Linked DNA regions of Homo sapiens: region 2 is linked to region 1. The links are contacts of gene promoters, found by promoter capture Hi-C in human tissues and cell types (Jung and others, 2019). All regions are on one chromosome and are shown on one strand. The core of a region is centred on a gene start or on the middle of the fragment in contact, and the rest is flanking DNA. Distances in the headings are between cores, read along the strand shown. Region 1 holds the start of RPP38 (ribonuclease P/MRP subunit p38). Region 2 has its middle 17 kb from the start of FAM107B.

Region 1 (3,239 bases), core at 111-2,610:
GGGGTTTCACCATGTTGGCCAGGATGGTCTCGATCTCCTGACTTTGTGATCCGCCCGCCTCGGCCTCCCAAAGTGCTGGGACTACAGGCGTGAGCCACCGCGCCGGGCCGGACCTCTTAACCTACATCTAAACAATGCCTACCAAAGGAAGTATGGAGTAAAGAAAGGTATCTCAGTATTAAAAGAAATAAGTTGGCTGGCGAGGTGGCTCACGCCTGTAATCCCAGCACTTTGGGAAGCCCAGGCGGGCGGATCACTTGAGGTCAGTAGATCGAGACTAGCCTGACCAACGTGGTGACCCGTCTCTACTAAAAATACGAAAATTAGCCGGGCGTGGTGGCAGGCGCCTGTAGTCCCAGCTACTCGGGAGGCTGAGGCAGGAGAATCGCTTGAACCCGGCAGGCGGAGGTTGCAGTGAGCCGGAATCGCGCCACTGCACTCCAGCCTGGGCGACTGCTATGTCTCAAAAAAAAAAAAAAAAAAAAAAACACGTTCAAATAAGTTCAATGTGGCTGGGGCAGAGATGCTAGAGAAAGCGGTGAGAAACTAGGAAAGGTGGGTAAGGACCAGATAATGAAGACCTTTGCAAGCGTTCCAGTGTGAAGCAACTTTAACATCTAAAGCAGAGGTGTCGTGATTAGAAAGACGTTATAGATCTTTGTGGATCTGGGCAAAGGAAGAGTCCCCGAGCAGCAAAGACGCTCCTGGAGTCGTCCAGGTTAGAAATGACGGTGGCCTGCACTAGAGACGCCGCAGAAAGGACTGGAGAAAAATACATGTTAGTCGGAAAAGAAGGTAGAATCTCCCGACACAGTAGTGACCAGCTGGAAGTAAAGTTGAGAACGGTATTGGTGGTGACTCCCGGTTTCTGGATCCCGCCGGTAGCCGAGGGGCGACGGCCGACCCAAAGCTCACCTCCCCACTGCACGCCGCCCCTGGATCGAGTACCTTGGTGCTTTACTATTTAGCACACGGAAGTGTTGTTCTGTTGTCCGTGTCTCCTTGGAGACCGTGGAGAACAGAAGGGCCGGCGGGGGTTTTCGCTTTGTACTCCTGGTGCCCAGCCGGCGCTGCAATCCAGCAGAGGAGCCGGACTAGAAACGCGGAAGCTCTGGGTGCACGCGCCCGGCCCGGGACTGGGCGGCCCAACCGGGAGGGCGGCGGGTCCTGCGGCCACGCAACAGGCGTTGGGGAAGCAGCAGAGACCCTGCGTGCGCGCGGGCTTCGGCCTCCAGATTCCGCAGAGTCCCGGGCCCGATCCCCCCGGGGCTGGCCTCCTGCCCTACGTGGGCCCCGCGCGCCCACCTGGAACTCACGATGGCGAATCCGTGGTCACCTGAAGGCAACAGCACCGGCGCCCAGTGCGCCTGCGCCGCGCGTGCGCAGAGCCCTCGCCTCCCGGCCTCGCCTCGCAGACGCGACGGGCCGGGGAGGAAGCGCTCGGAGCAGTGCAGGTTTCGTTATCCTGTGTTAGGTCACTCCGGAGAGGGGAAAGCGGCCCACAGCGTCGCGCGACCCGGAAACGACACAACGAGGCCCAATCTTTTAGACTCGAGTTTAGGCCCCGGGGTGGAGTCTCCGGACCGGGTCCCCCCACCCCCGCTACAGGGGCAGTGCGCAGGCGCGAGGTATGTATCGCGAGACCATGCGGTTGCCCGGGTAACCAGACGCTCAGGACTTGGACCGTCCAGTTGTTCGGAGGCCAGCCTATAGCCAATGGTATCCCGAGGGCTCGCTCTCTCCGGGCGTTTGTGCTCCCCTCTCTCTTCTAACCCAGTTTCTACCTTTCAGTGCTTTGGAATCTTAGCCCTCTGTCTCTATTCGCTTTTCTGTATTTGCCTTGCCTCAGGGACGCACAACCCCAGCCCCTGTCCCAGTGAGCCCGTCGCCATGGAATCCCTGCAGACTCCCCAGCACCGCGAAAATCAAGATAAAAGGGAGAAGGAGTATGGGGTAAAACACATGCCTATGGGCAATAATGCAGGGAATCTTGAGCCCGAAAAGAGAAAGGCAGTAAGAGTTGCCTTGAGTTCAGCAACAGCTGCACAGAATATCCCGTCCAGTGTCCACTGTGGCTGCTCCAAGCAATGGAGACTCAGGCTACCATCGGAGTCGCTGCAAAGTCGGGGACAAGTGATGAAGCGGCCGAATAACATTTTAAAGCTCAGGAATCTGGATCTGTTGATCTACCCTTGGCCAGAACTTAGAAGACGGCAGGTTGCTTCTGACCTAATGAGCCTCCTCCTTCTCCCCGCTTTTTCCGGCCTTACTTGGGCCCCCTTCCTTTTCCTCTTTACGTATCTGCCTCCTTTTCTCAATCTCCTCACTGTTGGTTTTGTATCCTATTTTCTGGTATAGTTTCTGTGATTTCTTTCTTTTATTTATTATTATTATTGTTGTTGAGACAGAGTTTTGCCCTTGTTGCCCAGGCTGGAGTGCAATGGCGCGAACCTGGCTCACTCCAGCCAGCGCCTCACAGGTTCAGGTGATTCTCCTGCCTCAGCCTCCGGAGTAGCTGGGGTTACAGGCACGGGCCACCAGCCCAGCTAATTTTTGTATTTTTAGTACAGACGGTGTTTCACCATGTTAGTCAGGCTGGTCTCGAACTCCTGACCTCAGGTGATCCGCCCACCTCGGCCTTCCAAAGTGCTGGGATTACAGGCATGAGCTACTGTGCCCAGCCTCTATGATTTCAATTTTCATGTTTAAGTACCTATGTAGAACCTAACTGTCCATAAGTAAACACAACAAAAAAAAGATTTGGCTTTTGGTCAAAGATCATTGGAGGTTACACAGGGTAAAGTGCAGTATGATTTTTATCACAATTAGAAAGATTAAAAAGAGATGACAGTGAGTTTGTGAGAACAGGTTTGTGTTTCATAAAATGAATTGTGTGAGTTAGCTATGATGAACTGCAAGCAGCTTGCATTTCCAAAGACAAATAGAGACACAGGAATCTAATTAAAATGCTAAAGTAATGGGAAGGAGACATCCATACGTTTTTGTCCCCCTAAGGTTCCAGATTTATAGTTTGAGCATCATCTCGGCTTACATTTTCTCTGTGGAAAACATCAGCCATTACATTACTTGGCTCTGGGTTGAAATCCTAACTTCATCAACTGAAGATCTTATGACCTAGGCAAGTTTATTAACCTCCTCTATGACGTGATAAAAATAGTATCTCTTGTGCGGATTAGAAGACATGTTCCTCTATGCTAAGATGATTATTATGTGCGGAA
Region 2 (3,075 bases), core at 413-2,912, 310 kb after region 1:
TTTTTTCCAATTTTGTGAAGAAAGTCATTGGTAGCTTGATGGGGATGGCATTGAATCTATAAATTACCTTGGGCAGTATGGCCATTTTCACGATATTGATTCTTCCTACCCATGAGCATGGAATGTTCTTCCATTTCTTTGTATCCTCTTTTATTTCCTTGAGCAGTGGTTTGTAGTTCTCCTTGAAGAGGTCCTTCACATCCCTTTTAAGTTGGATTCCTAGGTATTTTATTCTCTTTGAAGCAATTGTGAATGGGAGTTCACTCATGATTTGGCTCTCTGTTTGTCTGTTATTTGTGTATAAGAATGCTTGTGATTTTTGCACATTGATTTATTATCCTGAGACTTTGCTGAAGTTGCTTATCAGCTTAAGGAGATTTTGGGCTGAGATGATGGGGTTTTCTAGATATACAATCATGTCACCTGCAAACAGGGACAATTTGACTTCCTCTTTTCCTAATTGAATGCCCTTTATTTCCTTCTCCTTGTTTCAAACACAAAGATATATTTAAATCCTGGATACCCGAGACAAATTTAGAAAAAGGTACATTACTACTAAGAAAATAAAGAGTAAGATTTTGAATTTATTCATTCATGGGGATGACAAGCAGTTTTTTTTTTTTTTTTGAGACGGAGTCTCGCTCTGTTGCCCAGGCAGGAGTGCAGTGGCGGGATCTCGGCTCACTGCAAGCTCCGCCTCCCGGGTTCACGCCATTCTCCTGCCTCAGCCTCCCAAGTAGCTGGGACTACAGGGGCCCGCCACTACGCCCGGCTAATTTTTTGTATTTTTAGTAGAGACGGGGTTTCACCATTTTAGCCGGGATGGTCTCGATCTCCTGACCTCGTGATCCGCCCACCTCGGCCTCCCAAAGTGCTGGGATTACAGGCTTGAGCCACCGCGCCCGGCCACTGACAAGCAGTTTTAAATGGTGATAGAAAATGGCCGTAGAGAGTGAGTGAAGAGCAGGAGGCGTATCAGCAGTCAGCAGATAATTGAGAGAATCACATTTATTTTTTGTTTGTTTTTTTGAGATGGAGTTTCCCTCTTGTTGCCCAGGCTGGAGTGCAATAGTGTGATCTCAGCTCACTGCAACCTCCACCTCCCGGGTTCAAGCGATTCTCTTGCCTCAGCCTCCCAAGTAGCTGGGATTACAGGCATGCACCACCATTCCTGGCTAATTTTGTATTTTTAGTAGAGACAGGGTTTCTCTATGTTGGTCAGGCTGGTCTCGAACTCCTGACCTCAGGTAATCCACCCGCCTCGGCTTCCCAAAGTGCCGGTATTACAGGCGTGAGCCACAGCACCCGGCTGAGAGAGTCACATGTTTGAGGAGATGGAACAGTACAGGTGAAAGGTTTTGGTGAAAGGTTTGCCTCCCTGTTGCAAAGATACGTGTAGTTGCCTTTAGGGCCCACTTGGATAATGCGGGATAATCCCCCATCTCAGGATCTTTAACATAATCATACCTGCAAAGTCTTTGCCATAGAAGGTCACATTTGGAGATTCCAGGGATAAAGACATGAGACTTTGGGGCCATTATTTAGCTAGCCTACTAAACCCCCCAAATCTATCTACAGATTCAGTGAAATTCTGTATTGTAAATATTTTTAAATTTTCTGTATGTTATGATGTCATGACATATTTTAAAAAAGGTTCAGGCAAGGGAAAGACTGACTCCCTCAGGGCCAGCCAATTCTTAAAAAATATCAAAAGGCTCAGTTAGCAGCACTTTTTTTTTTTGAGACGGAGTCTCACTCTATTACCCAGGCTGGAGTGCAGTGGCATGATCTTGGCTCACTGCAGCCTCTGCCTTCCTGGTTCAAGCAATTCTCGTGCCTCATCAGCCTCCTGAGTAGCTGGGATTACAGATGTACACCACCATGCCGGCTAATTTTTGTATTTTTAGTACAGACAGGGTCTCACCATGTTGGCCAGGCTGGTCTCAAACTCCTGGCCTCAAGTGATCCGCCCACCTTGGCTTCCAAAAATGCTGGGATTATGGATGTGAGCCACCACGCCTGGCTAGGAGCACACTTTTGATATGCAAACTAATTAACCCAGAGCCACACTTCTTTTATTTAGACCATATACCCAGGAAACAATATTCCTCTACCTTGATCATCCTGGGTCCAGGGACCAGGCAGCTAGAGACCACTCCTGCAGCCCAAAGCTGCTCAAATTCATCAAACTAGCCAACCCTAAACAGTGCACCCTGCCATGTCTTGCCTTTCCTGGGGAAGCCCTACTAACAGCAGTGGCCTCAACTTTCCCCTGGCTCCTGTGTTTTGTGCCTGATCACTCTGGTGTCTTTCCCAAGTGGCCCTGTATAGCCTCCTGTCTCCAGGACCTGTGAACATAATAAACATTGTTTTGCTAAGCTTTGCCTGGCTCTCCTCTTGTGACTGACCATCTCATAAAATAATTACAAAGCAAATTCCAATCAAAATCCTGGGAGAATGTTTTTGGTAGAAATTGACAGGCTGATTGTACATTTGTATGTAATTGTAAAGGACCTAGAGTGGACAAAATAATGTTGAAAATAAAGAACAAAGTGGGAGGACTCTCACTACCTCATTTCAAGACTTATTTTAAAGCTACAGTCATCAAGACAGTGTGGTATTGGCATAAATTTAGACACACAGATCAACGGAACAGAGATGAGTCCAGAAAGAGACTCAAACACGCGTGGTCAATTGATTTTTCACAAAAATGCCAACAGAATTCAAAGGAGAAAGAATAGTCTTTCCAACAAATGATGCTAGAAGAATTAGACATCCATGAGGAAAAACAACTAAAATGCTATTATCTGGTGAACAGGTAAACAAATTGTAGCGTACCTAAACAATGGAATCCTACTGACCGATAAAAAGAAAGAAAACCACTGATCAAACAACATGATGAATCTCAAAAGCTAAATGAAAAGCTAGGCACAGAAGACTATATATTACATGATTCCATTGTTATGGAATTGTAGAAAAGGCAAGACTATATCTACAGAAAGATCAGTGGTTGCCAGAGCCAAGGCATGGGATTAGGAGATTAGCTGACAAGAGGCATAAGGGAAGTTTTGACGA

What was found. Contacts are between HindIII fragments. The study calls those that stand out against the background at their distance.
Region 2: a contact is called between a fragment that was not itself captured here and the fragment with the promoter of RPP38 in region 1, in 1 of the 25 tissues and cell types used here (mesenchymal stem cells).

What each region holds. Positions count from the first base shown.
Region 1 is chr10:15,095,476-15,098,714 of GRCh38, reverse strand. RPP38 (ribonuclease P/MRP subunit p38) reads right to left here and starts at 1,360. Exons shown (of 3, transcript NM_183005.5): 1 at 949-1,360. RPP38-DT (RPP38 divergent transcript) reads left to right here and starts at 1,396. Exons shown (of 2, transcript NR_160789.1): 1 at 1,396-1,628; 2 at 1,850-3,239. RefSeq lists enhancers at 653-792, 853-942, 1,244-1,815 and a silencer at 1,083-1,442. The HindIII fragment of the contact is 8,419 bases long and covers 1-3,239 here.
Region 2 is chr10:14,790,781-14,793,855 of GRCh38, reverse strand. No RefSeq gene overlaps it. Among named protein-coding and RNA genes, the nearest start is that of FAM107B, 17 kb to the right of the region's middle. The HindIII fragment of the contact is 5,190 bases long and covers 1-3,075 here.